Linked DNA regions of Homo sapiens: all the other regions are linked to region 1. Evidence: promoter capture Hi-C in 16 types of primary human blood cells and fetal thymus (Javierre and others, 2016). All regions are on one chromosome and are shown on one strand. Each heading gives the region's core, a stretch centred on a gene start or on the middle of the fragment in contact. The rest is flanking DNA. Distances are from core to core; before and after follow the strand shown.

What was found. Contacts are between HindIII fragments. The CHiCAGO score rates a contact against its expected background, and 5 or more counts as called.
Region 2: a contact is called between a fragment that was not itself captured here and the fragment with the promoter of HYCC1 in region 1, in 1 of 17 cell types (fetal thymus). The highest score is 5.9, in fetal thymus.
Region 3: a fragment that was not itself captured here is called in contact with the fragment with the promoter of HYCC1 in region 1 in 1 of 17 cell types (neutrophils); the score reaches 5.7 in neutrophils.
Region 4: a contact is called between a fragment that was not itself captured here and the fragment with the promoter of HYCC1 in region 1, in 1 of 17 cell types (neutrophils). The highest score is 9.1, in neutrophils.

What each region holds. Positions count from the first base shown.
Region 1 is chr7:23,012,545-23,016,249 of GRCh38, reverse strand. It overlaps HYCC1 (hyccin PI4KA lipid kinase complex subunit 1), which reads left to right and starts at 2,120. Exons shown (of 11, transcript NM_032581.4): 1 at 2,120-2,325. RefSeq lists enhancers at 1,790-1,969, 2,130-2,319, 2,737-3,418 and a silencer at 2,510-2,779. The HindIII fragment of the contact is 9,152 bases long and covers 1-3,705 here.
Region 2 is chr7:22,107,742-22,111,446 of GRCh38, reverse strand. No RefSeq gene overlaps it. Among named protein-coding and RNA genes, the nearest start is that of CDCA7L, 160 kb to the right of the region's middle. The HindIII fragment of the contact is 1,609 bases long and covers 1,084-2,692 here.
Region 3 is chr7:23,597,841-23,601,545 of GRCh38, reverse strand. It overlaps CCDC126 (coiled-coil domain containing 126), which reads right to left. Exons shown (of 4, transcript NM_138771.4): 2 at 3,495-3,579. Among named protein-coding and RNA genes, the nearest start is that of CCDC126, 2.3 kb to the right of the region's middle. RefSeq lists a silencer at 3,683-3,705. The HindIII fragment of the contact is 2,451 bases long and covers 908-3,358 here.
Region 4 is chr7:23,533,568-23,537,272 of GRCh38, reverse strand. No RefSeq gene overlaps it. Among named protein-coding and RNA genes, the nearest start is that of TRA2A, 3.4 kb to the right of the region's middle. The HindIII fragment of the contact is 4,760 bases long and covers 1-3,705 here.

The sequences.
Region 1 (3,705 bases), core at 871-3,370:
AAGTCAGTCTGATCTGTCAAGAATTTCCTCTCTACCCTGTTTTTTTTTCTTTGGATTCTCACCATTTAAAAGAAACCTGATTGCATTGTCCACATGATTAAAAGCTGTTGTCTGTCCCTCATTGCCTTAAGAAGAAAATCTAAACCTGAGCTATCCAATATGGGAGTTGTTAAAGTTAAAATTAAAAATTAATGCCAGACATGGTGGTTCACACCTGTAATCCCAGCACTTTGGGAGGCTGAGGTGGGTGGAGCACCTGAGGTCAGGAGTTCGAGACCAGCCTGGCCAACATGGTGAACCCCTGTCTCTACAAAAAATACAAAAATTAGCTGGGTGTGGTGGTGAGTTCATGTAACCCCAGCTACTCAGGAGGCTGAGGCAGGAGAATTGCTTGAACCTGGGAAGTGGAAGTGCAGTGAGGTAAGATCCCACCACTGTACTCCAGCCTGGGTGACAGAGGGAGACTCTGCCAAAAAAAAAAAAAATTAAAAATTGAGTTTCAGCCGTGTATGGTAGTTCATGTCTGTAATCCCAGCACTTTGGGAGGCTGAGGTGGGAGGATCACTTAAGCACTCTACCCCAGTTTGGGTGACAGAGTGAGACCTTGTCTCAAAAATAAATAAATAAATAAATAAATACATTGAGCTCTTCAGTCACACCACATTTCAAGTATTTGATAGCCACATGTGGCTAATGGCTACTATTTTGGACAACACAAATATAGAACATTTTCACCAGTGCAGAAAGCTCTGCTGGACAGTGCTTGTCTGAATATCTTAGTGTAGCTTGTGAGGTCTTTTACAATCTCACCTCAACCTTTTGCTCCAGCCCAATTTTTGGCCGTTCCTCATCATTTAACCCCATCTACCTTCTCAACATTCCACAATGGCTCTGTGCCCTTTCACAGCTCCATGCCTTTGAACATGGTGTTCTCCCTTTCTGAAATACCCTTTGACTTTCTTCTCTGGCAAACTCCCATTTACCTTTTAAGATCCAACTCAAACATTACCTTCCTTGTGGAGTTCGCTGACTTTCCTAAACAGTCATTTCTTGTCCTCTGTTTCCATTGCTCATTGAACCAATCTCTATTGTCCTTATCACTGTAGTTTGTTATTATTTACTCATTAATCTGATCCTCCCTTTGGAGGGGGATCCTATCTGTTTTAGCAATCTGCCCTAATAATTACCTGAAATTGTTTGCTTGATACCCTTTTGATATCAAGTAATATATCTTCTTATTTATGTGCTTGTTATTTATGAGTTCAGCATGTTTGAAAAGTTCACTTAGTGTTTCTGGAGAAATCCTGCCCATTTCTAGTGTAAAGCTAGAATGAACTTCCTGTCTTCTAGGGTGGAGGTCAGTTTTTCTTCTAATTAATCCTGACCAGTCTTGAGAAGGATGTGGTAGGAGAGGTTTACAAGGTCAAAAACAGCAGTACTGTCTGCAGGCGCAGGTTCAGGTGTTCTCGGGTTCCAGTTATTATACAAAACATTTAGTATATGTTCAGAGAAAAAGTAGGGAGGAATGATGGAAAAAATAAAAACAACCCCCATGGAAAGAAAACTGAGGCATCGTATTTGACTTTTTCCAGGCTAAGCCCAAAAGCAATGATGTAGTGAGGGGGAAGTTTGTATTTCCATTTTGCAAAAACGTAATTTTTTTTTCCTCCCGGGATTTGATAAGATTTTGATAAATTCTTGTGAATTTAATTACAGGGAAGTAAATCCTACTGACTAGTAAATTATCAATTTGTTTCTCTTTTCTCACAAAAGAGAAACAAATTGATACCCTTCACATCATCCGGTAAGGTTTATTTTTTTCTGAGAAGGCCATAAGCCCTAACGGCTCAGAATCTAAGAGACCTTCGCTGATTGTCATCGCCTAGCGGCCACCGCAAACCTTACAGTCAATCAACTTCCCTCGGACGCCCGGATCACGCCCATTGCTCAGACCACGCCCACTCAAGGCGCCTCATGGCTCCGCCCCAGGCCCAGCAGAAGAAGATTCTCATTGGTGGAGAAGTTGTTCTGATCCCGCCCCGGAGGACGGCGATAGGCTGAACTGGCGTGGGGCGGTGGTGGTTGGCTGCTTGAGGACGGGTCCCTGGTCGTGCCTGTCAGAGAGGCTGGCGGCAGTGGTGGCTCTCCCGGCTGGGTTGTCAGTCAGTGAGAGGAGGGGGAAGATGGCTCACCGGGACCCGTTCTGCTAGGAAGAAGGGGAGCAGGTGGTGCTGCTACTCGGGAGGAAGCAGAGCAGCCTCCGTCGCTGTCGCTGAGAGCCTCACGAGTCGAGGTCCTGCAGGTGGAGCTCCGGCAGCCGCCCTGGTGAGTCCAGCCGAGAGACCCACGCCGGGCCCCCAGGGCGTCCGGCAACGGATAACTTTTTTTTGTCAGGGAGGAGCCGGGGCGAGGCGGCGGCGAGGACAGGACCGGGACTTTGTCCCTGGGGCCGCGGCTCCACTGGGGGTAACGGCTCCCGCGCGAGGCGCCATGGGTGGGTGCGAGGCGGCGCGGGGCGCTGGGGGCGGCTGGCGGGCGGGTGGGCTGCGGCCGGCGCTGCTCGCCCCGAAGTTGGGCGCAGCCTGCCCGCTGCCTGGAGGGCGGCAGCTTTGTGCGCGCGACTCGGGTCTTTCCTTCCCGGCGAGGAGCAGTCCAGCCTCCTGCTGTGACCCGGGTGCCGCCGCCTCGGCCCCACCGGCCGCCCCTCTGCCGGGTGGGCCTGGGGCGGGAGCCCCCCGTCCCCTCCCTGCCGCGGCGGATGCTCTGGCCTCTGCCTCCTCTCCCACTCGCGCCCTCTACTTCGGCGAGGCCGCCACTGTCCGTCCGGTCTGGTGGCCACAATGGTCACTGTCGACCCCCCGCCCTCGCCCCCTGGAGAGCAGCGTTGGCCCGAGTCGGTCTTTGGTCCCCTGCAGGGCGGAGAGGTTCAGACAGCAGCCACGCTTCCTTCCTTGGTTATTTCGCTGAAGATCTCTTCTTGAGCCCTTGCCCCTTCTTTCTATGAGTTATTCCTCTCCTGAGGCTCATTTTAACATACTCGGGAATCCTCGGGGGTTTGGCTGAAAATGGTTGCATTAAAACACCCCCAAGTTTGTACGCTTCCCCGAAATTTGCTGTCTGCCCGTCAGCTTGCACATGTGTGCTTTGTGAGTTTAGACATTCCTGAAAGATTTTAATTTTGCCTAAGTGGTTTAGTACTGCACAGAATCTGCTCTCTGAGAAATACACTATCACAAGCCTGGCAGCCGCGGCGCTCTTCAGGTAGGGGGAATTTGTTCCACCGGCAGCTACTTCTTATCTCAGAGACTGCCCTACAGGCAGTAGGGCCAAGCTGACCTTTTGCAAATTATTTATCCTTGGATCACACAGTAGTTTTTGGAGCAGGTGGGCCACCTCTTTGGTTCATGTAACACTTTACAGTTTGAGGTTTTCAGCTTTCAAATCTTATTGCCATAAAGTCAGAAAGACTGGGAGGCTTGTTTTCCATGAAAACATTCTACTGCTAACATCCACAGGCACCCCACCTCCCCCGACATTTCCAAGTATTTTTTTTTCTTTAGGTGAATACATTTTAAGGTTTACAGGATGAATAGTAGTCTAAACCACCATATTTTTGAAGTGCAGGCAAAGACAAGGAAGGAAAAACATTTAAGATCTGCTTGGCCAATAGTGGCTTCAAAGTCAGCTATTCAAATAATCAGTTCA
Region 2 (3,705 bases), core at 639-3,138, 900 kb after region 1:
AAGTTAAGAGTTAACCACAAGATTTTTGGTTTGACCAGCTGAAATCATGGAATTGCAACTAATTGCAATGAAAAAGACCTTGGAGATGGCAGGTTTGAAGGAGAATAGCAGGAACTCAGTTCGGGACATATTTGGTTTGAGATGTCCACTAGATAGACATGGATTGGAACTAACAATAATCTCTTTGTACCAAGTCTGACTTGTGTGCTTGATTTAGGGGACTTTCTACATCATCCACATCTGGGATTTCACCAGTCAAAGCCATTCTATGAGCTGGGGTGTTGTGCTGGATGAATACTTGCTCAATAATGATGCTTCAAACCTCCAGGTCCAAGCTCCAAGCATTGTCAGCACAGCCATGTGGAGCAACTTCGATGCACAGAACCTCTTCAAGTCCAACCAAATAGACACCACCCACTTGGGCAACAAGCCATCTCAGAGGGCAACCACCTCATGGGGCTCTCGACACTCTTCCCCTAGCAACCATACTTCAACTTTGACTTCACGGTTTGTTTAGTGCTGCCTTCTCATTCGGGCCTTCCTTTCCAGAAGAAATGTAGAAATATGAATTACACTTCTGTCATTAGAGATTCCAGAGGCTTCAATTAGGCAAGCTGAAATAAAATCTGTCTAAAAGACACGTAGTAATAGGCCTTTGAAACAAGCTTCGAGGTGGTCCCAGACATTCAGTTCCAATTTCACATTGCATAGCCAGAAACAAACTTGTACCTCAATGGGAAAGAACTTTTCAGACAGTCCATTATTTTTTTATGTTACCTTCTTTTGTCATCAAAAAATGATCTGGATCTCTTCTCTCCTCCTCACTTAAGTAACTTTTCTTCATGTCCTGGGTCATGCCCCAGGAATTTTTATCTACAAAGTGCTCAGCCTGGTGCACAATGCACATTCGCTGCTTAATAAATATTTGTTGCCTGAGATGCGTGCTGCTGGCATGACCAAAATGTGAGACGTTAGCGACATCTGCTGGGGATATGGTGATGGTGTGCAGAATTTAAGTCAGAAATGCATGTTTTTGAAGGGCTGAGTTAAATCAAATGCCACAATGGGGCACTGTTGGAAGCTTATGTCTACAGTGATGAGGCCATGGCTTTGCAGCTCTTCCTTACCAGGATGTGGTCCAGTGGGTTATTGTTCTCCTACAATATAATGCAGCCTTGTTTTTTTAAAAATACAGAAATCAAGAAGATGGAAAAGGAGCTGAACTGGGGAAAGCTGAGGTTTGCACAGGTCTGTTGGCTCCTAAGAAAATGAAGAAAGTGAGGGCAGGGAAAGGATGGAGAAGCAGGTCTCCAGTCTTCCCCCACTCCGACCGCTGGCCCTCAGGAGAAAGTGCAAGTGCCCAAAAGCAACTTCCCAGCCACTGTCCTTCCCCAGCCTCACCTCTGGCTTCTGCTCCCTGTTCCTGCCCCACACCCCAGGGGACACATTCCTCAGGTCCACTCCAGCCCAGCTAAAACGTTCAGGCACTCACCTCCAGACCTTTGAGCTTATTTGTTCAACAGCCAAGTAGCGAGTGGGGACTTGGGAACACTAGGAGGCGCTGTGCTAAACATGGGTGTACATTCCAGAGCCAGTCCAGGGAGTGTGGTTCCGGAACGGGTGGAGCTTCTGGTGTAGTGGATGTGGACTTTCTGGCCTGGAGCTCCTCTCTCCTCCTCACATAAGTAACTCTTCTTCATGCCCCAGGTCTCAGCACCCCCAGGAAACCTGCACTGGCCCCTCTAGCCTACACCAGATTCCCCCCAACCAAGCACCCTCGTAACACCTGGGTTTACCCCTCTCCAACCAAGTCAGAGCCTCTGAACTAGTTGGCCTGCTCCTCACCTCCCAATACACTAGATGTCCCCTCAAGCACCGGTTGCCTTCTTTACATTTATGTATCAGTGTTGATCACAAAACCAGAACAAGGTAGGTACTTCTGTGGTCCTGGAAGAGCTATGGTAACTGTCATAGACCCAGGAAAGACGCCGTTTACTACGCAGAGGTGCTGCGGTGAGTGACAGGAGACTCAGCAGCATTGTCATATCACAGAGCAAACCCTGCCTGCTGGGCTTCCAGGCCATGTGAAGGTAGAGATAACCGATGACCTGCTTGATTGAATGTGGAGCCCATGGGGCTGGTAGGGGTGCCAGGGCTTCAGATCTCTTCCAGTGTTCTGGGGTCTGCCTGTCCCAGGAGCTGGCAGCAATTCCAACACATTCCTGAGCACTTATTGCTAAGGTGAATCCAAGTTCACGTTCCCAGAACGGGTTCCGAGTCAACCACGCCAGAGGTCTGCGCCAGCTGCACTTGGTCTAGGAGGCCTGGGACCACCGTCAGCCCATTCTTCCTTGAGGCTCCGGAACAGCGTGGGACATTAGCTGAGCTGTGCTCAGAAGCAACTCTCTCGCTGATTAGGGCTGCCGAGAGTCCCATCGTCTGCTCACCTGTCAATCAATCAAGCCTCTTCACTGCCATCCTGACCATCCTGTCAGGGCTGATCACCTTGGCTGCTCACAGAACCCATGAGGACTGAGAATTTCCCAGATCCTCACAATGACTGAGCAGCCCTGCTTCCCTGGACCTTTATAAGCATCTGGAACATGCCCAGGTGTGCCAGGTGTGGCCTCCATGGCCTGCCAGAGGAGGGGGCAGGGGGAGTGCAAAGACTGAATCAGACAAAGACTAAGCTTTGCTTCTGCCCCTTCTTCACCCTTTTTTCCCATGCAAGAGTCTCAAAGGCAGATCCAGAAGGAAAAGTCAGCAACATTCCACCATTCGATTCCTTTTCTTGGCCCCAGTGTGTGCCCTGGGGCCCTTTCGTTCTTTGGCCTGGGTAGAGTGTGTGGCCACACGCTGCTGAAAAGGTCAGGGTCAAGATGCTGGGAGCTGCCAGTGGCGCTAGAGGAACCCATGTTTTCCATTGTGGATTAAAATACCCATTTGCCTGCGGCTGAGCTTCCCCTCCGAATCCAATAGGTCAATAAGGACCAAGGACAAAGCACAAACAGGGCCTGGAAGCCAAGAGATGTCGATAAAAATGGAGATGAATAGGCATTTCAGTGCGGGCAGGCCGTGGGTGTGGGGCATTGTCTTTTCTCTGGCCGGCAGTGCCTGGCCACTTTGTCTCCAAACAGTGCTTCCATTTTAGAGATGCCAGATTGGTTTGGACCCAAAGCTTGACTGTTGCGGGGTGGGCTGAGGTGGGAGTGGGGAGGATTCACACAGAAAAAAAAAAAAAGGCATCCTTCTGGGTGCCAAACGTGGCAGTTCCTCCGTTTCTTTCCAGTACAAAGCCCTCCCGATGCGGAAAACACTCCTTTTTGACCGTGTTACTCTTCTTTCCTTTTAAGAAAATAAGTTCCCAATCTTTGGGTTTTTTAAACAGTGCAAATGCTGGCATTTCAGAGCTGCTTTAGTGTCTTCGGCTAGATGTTGAAAAGAGCCCAGTCTTCTCTCATTATTTCCTCTGCCCCTCAGTTTATTTCATGTAGAGCTCTAACTGAAAGATCCCAGCCGGGTGCAGTGGCTCATGCCTGTAATCCCAGCACTTTTGGAGGCCGAGGCAGGTGGATCACAAGGTCAGGAGATCGACCCACCCTGGCTAACACGGTGAAACCCCGTCTCTACTAAAAATACAAAAAATTAGCCGGGCGTGGTGGCAGACACCTGTAGTCCCACCTACTCGGGAGGCTGAGGCAGGAA
Region 3 (3,705 bases), core at 884-3,383, 590 kb before region 1:
AGGGAACAAAATCAACAGTTTGCAATGAGCAATTTTCAAAACACAAGATAAAATAGAAACCATCAGAGTAGACCGTACACACTACCAATTTTGTTTTGTTAAATTTCCAGTTTATTTTTACATATACAGACATATGCATGCATACACAGTTGTTGCTGTTTGAGATAAGGTCTGGCTCTGTTGCCCAGGCTAGAATGCAGTGGCCATAGCTCACTGAGCCTTGATCTCCCAGACTGAAGAGGCCCCCACCCTTGCCCCTGCCTCAGCCTCCTAAGCAGCTGGGACTACAGGTGTGTGCCACTACACTTGACAAATTTTATTTTTAGCAGCGACAAGGTCTCACTATGTTGCCCAGGCTGGTCTCAAACTCTTGAGCTCAGGCGATCTTCCTGCCTCAGCTTCCCAAAGCGCTGGGATTACAGGCATGAGCCACTGAGTCCAGCCTATGCACACACAGTTACACGTGTATGGAGTCTTTTTTTTTTTTTTTAATTATTGATATGAGATCTAACTATGTTGCCCAGGCCAGTCTCAAACTCCTGGGCCCACATGATTCTCCCACCTCTACCTCCCTAGTAGCTAGGACTGACTGCAGGTGCACACAACCATACTCAGCCATCAATGGAGTCTTGCTATAAAAAGATCTCTTACTACGGATTGTAACAAAAAAGTTTAAAAAATACTGCATTTCACACTCCCTGTCATCTGTCATGAAGTACTTCCTTGTATTTTATGCAAACATAGCAACAGCAATATTAAAAACACAAATAGATGGCTAATCATACCTTAAAATCTCTCATTCAAATCTCATTTTTGCATCTATTCAGTGCTCTACATTTTGTGCCATTATAACTATAGCTAAAGTAACTATCAACAGCAATAGCAGCAACTAGCAGGCAGAGAAGCTTTCACTCAGCCAAAGGTACTAGAAGAACTACTGCCTATTAGTCTCCAAAGGAATTTCAGCTAGAGAGGCATAGATTTACTACAAAAAGACACAGTATGTTCACCACAGCTCAGAGGTTCAAATAGTTCTCTCCAAAAACGACCCAAAAAAAAGTCCTCCACAGACTTGACCCCGGAATGTAATTTCAGGGAAAAAGGGGCATTCCTAAAATATTTTCTCTATGTAACACTGCCTGAGGCTAATATGGTGGTGGGGGGGGGGGGGTTAACACAGAACACAGCCATTCGCTCCATAATAAGGTCTAAGATTTAAAATGCACTGCCTTGAGAGAAGCTACACTAAAATTCCAGCTAAGATACGGAAATAATGAGTGTCAAGATATCAGATCATTTTTAGATGGCACATTTGGGAGACAGAATAGAAGACAATAGCACTGAATATTACAAAAACAGATAAAAGAAAAATGGTAAAGTGAGGCAGGGATAAAAACAGAAAATGTTAAGGCAAAAAGAAAACTAACCATTATGCTACAGTAAAAGTTTAATTTAAAATATGGCCTGGCGTGGTGGCTCATGCCTGTGATCCCAGCACCTTGGGAGGCTGAAGAGGGCGGATCACTTGAGGTCAGGCATTCAAGACCAGTCTGGTCAACATGGTGAAACCCCATCTCTACTAAAAATACAAAAATTAGCCAGGCATGGTGGTGCATGCCTGTAAACCCAGTTACTTGGATGGCTGAGGTACAAGAATCGCTTGAACCTGGGAGGTAGAGGATGCAGTGTGCAGAGATCGCACCACTGCACTCCAAGCTGAGTGAAAGAGCAAGGCTGTCTCAAACTAAACTAACTAAACTAAAATATGCAATAAAATAAACTATGCAGGCCGGGCTCCAGGGCTCACACCTATAATCCCACCATTTGGGAAGCTGACATAGGCAGATCACTTGAGGTCAGAAGTTCAAGACCAGCCTGACCAACATGGTGAGACCCTGTCTCTACTAAAACTACAAAAATTAGCCAGGCATGAGGTACAAGAATTGCTTGAACCCAAAAGGTAGAAGTTGCAGTGAGCCAGCACCACTGCACTACAGCCTGGGTGACAGAGTAAGACTCTGTCTCAAAAAAAAAAAACAACAAAACCTATATATATACATATACATAGACACACACTATGCAGCACTAGATACTTCAATCACAGAGCTTCACCTGTCACAGCCGTGGCCAATCATGTTTTGTGCCACATGTCCCCACCTCCCCTTCCAAAGCCAACTAGGCTAGCATCTCTGGCCTCAAACAAAGAGGCCCCAGGGAAAACCAGGCAGTTGGCAGAAGGAGCTGAAGGAGAAGTCATGAAAATAAATAATAAAGTTGGATGAGGGGATTGACAAGCTAAAGTTATGAAGAATCAGGCACAACAGGTATAGGGGCTATGAGCAAAAGATACAGAGTAGGGAGAAAGAGAACAAAGCATGTCAAAAATGCAGAGAAACTGTGCAGCTCATGAGAGAGTGATAACTGGCTGGTAGAGATTCTTATTTCTGGCAGCTTTCTTGTTCTCTTAAATGTATTCCTTCTTTCAAGGTAGTTTGAAAGAATTATATGACCTGAAGCAGGAAGAAACACTAAGAACACAAATGACTAAAAGGGTTTACACAAATTTTGTTTCCACATTTAAAAAAAAACCTCTAAAAACCTTTATCATTGAAAGTCTGAGCTAGAAGAGTCCTTGGAATCAGACCAATTCACTATTTTAGAGATGAGGACATTGAGGACCACAAAGTAATCTCAGGTTACACAGATAGTGACAGAGCAAGGACAAAACTAAGGACTCCTATTTCCGTAGCCATTACTCTCTGTCCTACACTGCACTAAATAACACCAACATAGAAACATTTTCCTCAAAACAAGTATTTTTGCAACACATTTTAGAGTGAGAAATTATTAATCAGTGAGAAGATGCAGACAGATGTAGAAAAAAGTTGACCCAGGTTAAATATGGTGAAGCCCAGAGGCAGGACTGTAAAATACCTGGATGCCTACTCTGACGAAACAAACACTTAGCGCCTCTAAGGATTCCCAAAGGACACACCTGAGGGGGAGGGGAGAGGTGAATACTTGTACCTCTGAAGCTGATCCACAGAAAAGCAGAGTCATCAATTTCCTAAGAACATTCTCAGCCATCTTAAAACAGCAAAAATTAGGAAGACGGCATATTTTAATGAATCCTTTGGTTAGGTTTAAGATAAAGTGAAGAACACACAACCCAGGATGATTAAACAAACAAAAGCACAAAACTCAAGTCCAGAGGCCACTTCGGTCACTTCAGTCATAGCTAATGAAAGTATCACAAAGGATCTTTTCATCAAATGAAGAACTAATGACGTTATAGGTCTATATTCCTAATTCTAACCACTTACAGGTGTGTGTTTTGATGGATGAGAAAACTCAAGCTTAGAGCCTTTAAGTAACCAAGATCACCAAGGCAGGCAGTGAGAGAAACCCAGGCAGGATTCGAACCCTAGCTGGCTGAGCCATTCTCATTACCGTCACAGTCAACAATCAACACGGCAGTTTAAGTTCATCCTTACCAGTCACCCAGGAGATGAGTTTTGAAGAGGGAGTTTAAAAGGGGCATCTGACTTTCTCTCTCTCCCAAAGTAGAAGAGAACTGAGCTGTCAAAAACAGAAAAAGAAGTGAGTGCGGTGCCGCCCGGGATCTACATCCCGCAGCTCCGGACCAAGCCCGCCCCGCTCGACTCGCGCAGCCCCAGCCACGCTCGGCTCTCCGCCCGAGCCGAG
Region 4 (3,705 bases), core at 497-2,996, 520 kb before region 1:
TGGGAAGCCAAGGCAGGAGGATCACTTGAGCTCAGGAATTCAAGACCCGGCCTGAGTAACATGGTGAGACCTCATCTCTGCTTAAAAAATAAAAAAAAAAGTTGGGCATGGTGGCTCACGCCTGTAATCCCAGCACTTTGGGAGGCTGAGGTGGGCAGATCACCTGAGGTCAGGAGGTCGAGACCAGCCTGACCAACATAGAGAAACCCCGTTTCTACTAAAAGTACCAAAAAAATTAGCTGGGAGTTGTGGCGCATGCCTATAATTCCAGCTACTCAGGAGGCTGAGGCAGGAGAATTGCTTGAACCTGGGAGGTAGAGGTTGCAGTAAGCCGAGATCACCCCATTTCACTCCAGCCTGGGCAACAAGAGCAAAACTCCCTCTCAAAAAAAAAAAGAAAAAGAGAAAGAAAAAAAAATTAGGTGGGTGTGGTGGCACATGCCTGTAGTCTCAGCTACTCTGGAAGCTAAGGTGGGAGAATCAGCCTGGGCAACGGAGTGAGAACTTGTCTCGAAAATAAATAAAACAAAATAAAAAAGATTTTTAAAATGAATTGTGGCTATTAAGCAATGAGACTTACTTAAAAATATATAGGAAGGGGGACTTGCCCAATCAGACATAAAAATTTGAAAGCCTGGCTGGGCGTGGTGGCTCACGCCTGTAATCCCAGAACTTTGGGAGGCCGAGGTGGGTGGATCATGAAGTCAAGAGATCAAGACCAGCCTGACCAACATGGTGAAACCCTGTCTCTACTAAAAATACAAAAAATTAGCTGGGCATGGTGGTGAGTGCCTGTAGTCTCAGCTACTTGGGAGGCTAAGGCAGGAGGATCGCTTGAACCAGGGAGGCAGAGGTTGCAGTGAGTCAAGATTGTGCCACTGCACTCCAGCCTGCTGACAGAGCGAGACTCCATCTCAAACAATAAAAAAACAAACAAAAATTTGAAAGCCTCTATATTAAAACAGTGTGGCACTGGTGTATGACCAGGGAAACAGAAAACCCAGAAATAGACTCAACTCCGTAAGAAAATGTAGTGTATAACAAAGGTGACATCTAAAAAGCAAAGATGGGCTTTTTAATGCTGGGATCACTGGGTAGCCATTTGGAAAAGGTAAAATTAGATCTATAGTCCACATCATACATAAGAACAAATGCCAAATGGATCACGAATCTAAATGTAAAATATGAAGCTACATAACTACTAGAAGAAAACATAGTGAATTCCTCTTTAATCTCAGTATGGGAAAAGGCTAACTATGACTTAAAATCCAGGGGCAGCCGGGTGCACTGGCTCACACCTGTAATCCCAACACTTTGGGAGGCCGAGGCATGCGGATCACGAGGTCAGGAGTTTGAGACCAGCCTGACCAATACGGTGAAACCCCATCTCTACTAAAAATACAAAAATTAGCCGGACGTGGTGGTCCTCACCTGTAATCCCAGCTCAGGAGGCTGAGGCAGGAGAATCGCTTGAACCTGGAGGTGGAGGTTGCAGTGAGGCGAGATTGCGCCATTACACTCCAGCCTGGGCGACAGGGCAAGATTCCATTTCAAAAAAAAAAAAAAAATAGTGGCCAGGCACAGTGGCTCACGCCTGTAATCCCAGCACTTTGGGAGGCCAAGGTGGGTGGATCACCTGAAGTCAGGAGTTCAAGACCAGCCTGGCCAACATGGTGAAAACCCATCTCTACTAAAAAATACAAAAATTAGCTGGGTGTGGTGGTGCATGCCTGTAAGCCCAGCTACTTGGGAGGCGGAGGTTGCAGTGAGCCGAGAATGAGCCATTGCACTCCAGCCTGGGCAACAAGAGCAAAATTCAGTCTCAAAAAAAAAAAGTATGCTAATTTGGGAATCTTTTATTGCCATAGTAAAATTAATTAATTAAATTAAAAAATCAAAAAATAGTATGCAAAATATACCATAAGCAAAGTCAAATACAATTTACAAACTAGGAGAAAATATTTGCAACATAAAGCACAAATAAAAGGCTAATATTCCTAATATACAAGGAACTCATAAAACTTGAGGGACAAAGGATAAAAATCCAATAGAAAAATGGAAAATAGGCCGGGCACAGTGGCTCACACCTGTAATCCCAGCACTTTGGGAGGCCGAGGTGGGCGGATCACCTGAGGTCGGGAGTTCGAGACCAGCCGGACCAACCTGGAGAAACCCCGTCTCTACTAAAAATACAAAATTAGCCAGACGTGCTGGCGCATGCCTGTAATCCCAGCTACTCGAGAGGCTGAGGCAGGAGAATCGCTTTAACCCGGGAGGCGGAGGTTGCAGTGAGCTGAGATCGTGCCATTGCACTCCAGCCTGGGCAACAAGAGTGAAACTCCGTCTCGGAAAAAAAAAAAAAGAAAAATGGAAAATAGACAATTCCGAAAAAAGGACATTATATATATGTTTAAACATATCAAAAGTTTATAACTGAAATCTGGGACAATTCAAGCAACAAAATAAATAATGATAGCAATGGATTATAACTCATAAAGCAAATATCTCCTATCATCCCGGCACTTTGGGAGGCCGAGGTGGGTGGATCACTCGAGGCCAGGAGTTAGAGACTAGCCTGGCCAACATCAAAACCCCGTCTCTACAAAAAAATACAAAAATTAGCCGAGCACAGTGGCATGCACCTGTGGTCTCAGCTACTGGGGAGGCTAAGGCAGAATAATCTCTAGAGCCCGAGAGACAGAGGTTGCAGTGAGCCAAGACTGTGCCACTGTACTCCAGCCTGGGCACGGGAGTGAAACTCTGTCTCAAAAAAAAAGGCAAAGAAAAAAGAAACTACTCTTCTAGGCCCGGCCTGGTTCCTCAACACTTTGGGAGGCCTAGGCGGCAGGATCACTTGAGCCCAGGAGTTTGAGAGCAGCCTGGGCAACATGGCAAAACCTGGTCTCTACAATAATTTAAAAATTAGCTGGGCATGGTGTTGGGGGCCTGTAGTCCCAGCTATGTGAGAGGGTGTGGTGGGAGGATCGTTGGAGCCATGATTGTGCCACTGCACTCCAGCCTGGGTGACAGAGTCAGATTATGTCTCCAAAAAATAAATAAAAGGAAAAAAGGGTAGGGGGGAAGACTCTTAGTCCATAATAGTCTACCTTTCTCCCATCCTTGATTGTGAATTTAATCTGTTGGGGAATGTGGTTATTTGTCCTGTGGAAGTTGATTACTTCATCTCGGTGTTTTTATTTTTCCCTTTCTTGTATTTCCTGTAAACTGTTGGCTAGATCTAAGGTTTAATTAGATTTGAGTTCAATTTGAGGGATCAGGAATACTTCACAGGAGGAACTGGGTATTTTCTATTGCATCACATCATGAGGTATCTCGTATCTGGTTATCTCACTTTTAATGGTACTAAGATTGATCAGTGGTTCAAATGGTATCAACCTGGCTGGGCGTGGCAGCTCACGTCTGTAATCCCAGCACTTTGGGAGGCTGAGGCGGGCAGATCATCTGAAGTCACAAGTTCCAGCCCACGCTGGCCAACATGGTGAAACCCCATCTCTACGAAAAATACAAAAATTAGCCGGGTGTGGTGGCACGCACTGTAATCCCAGCTACTCGGGAAGCTGAGCCAGGAGAATCACTTGAACCCGGAGGTGGAGGTTGCAGTGAGCCGAGATCGCGCCACTGCACTCCAGCCTGGGTGACAGAGCAAGTCTCCGTCTCAATAATAATAATAATAATTTCTTTTGT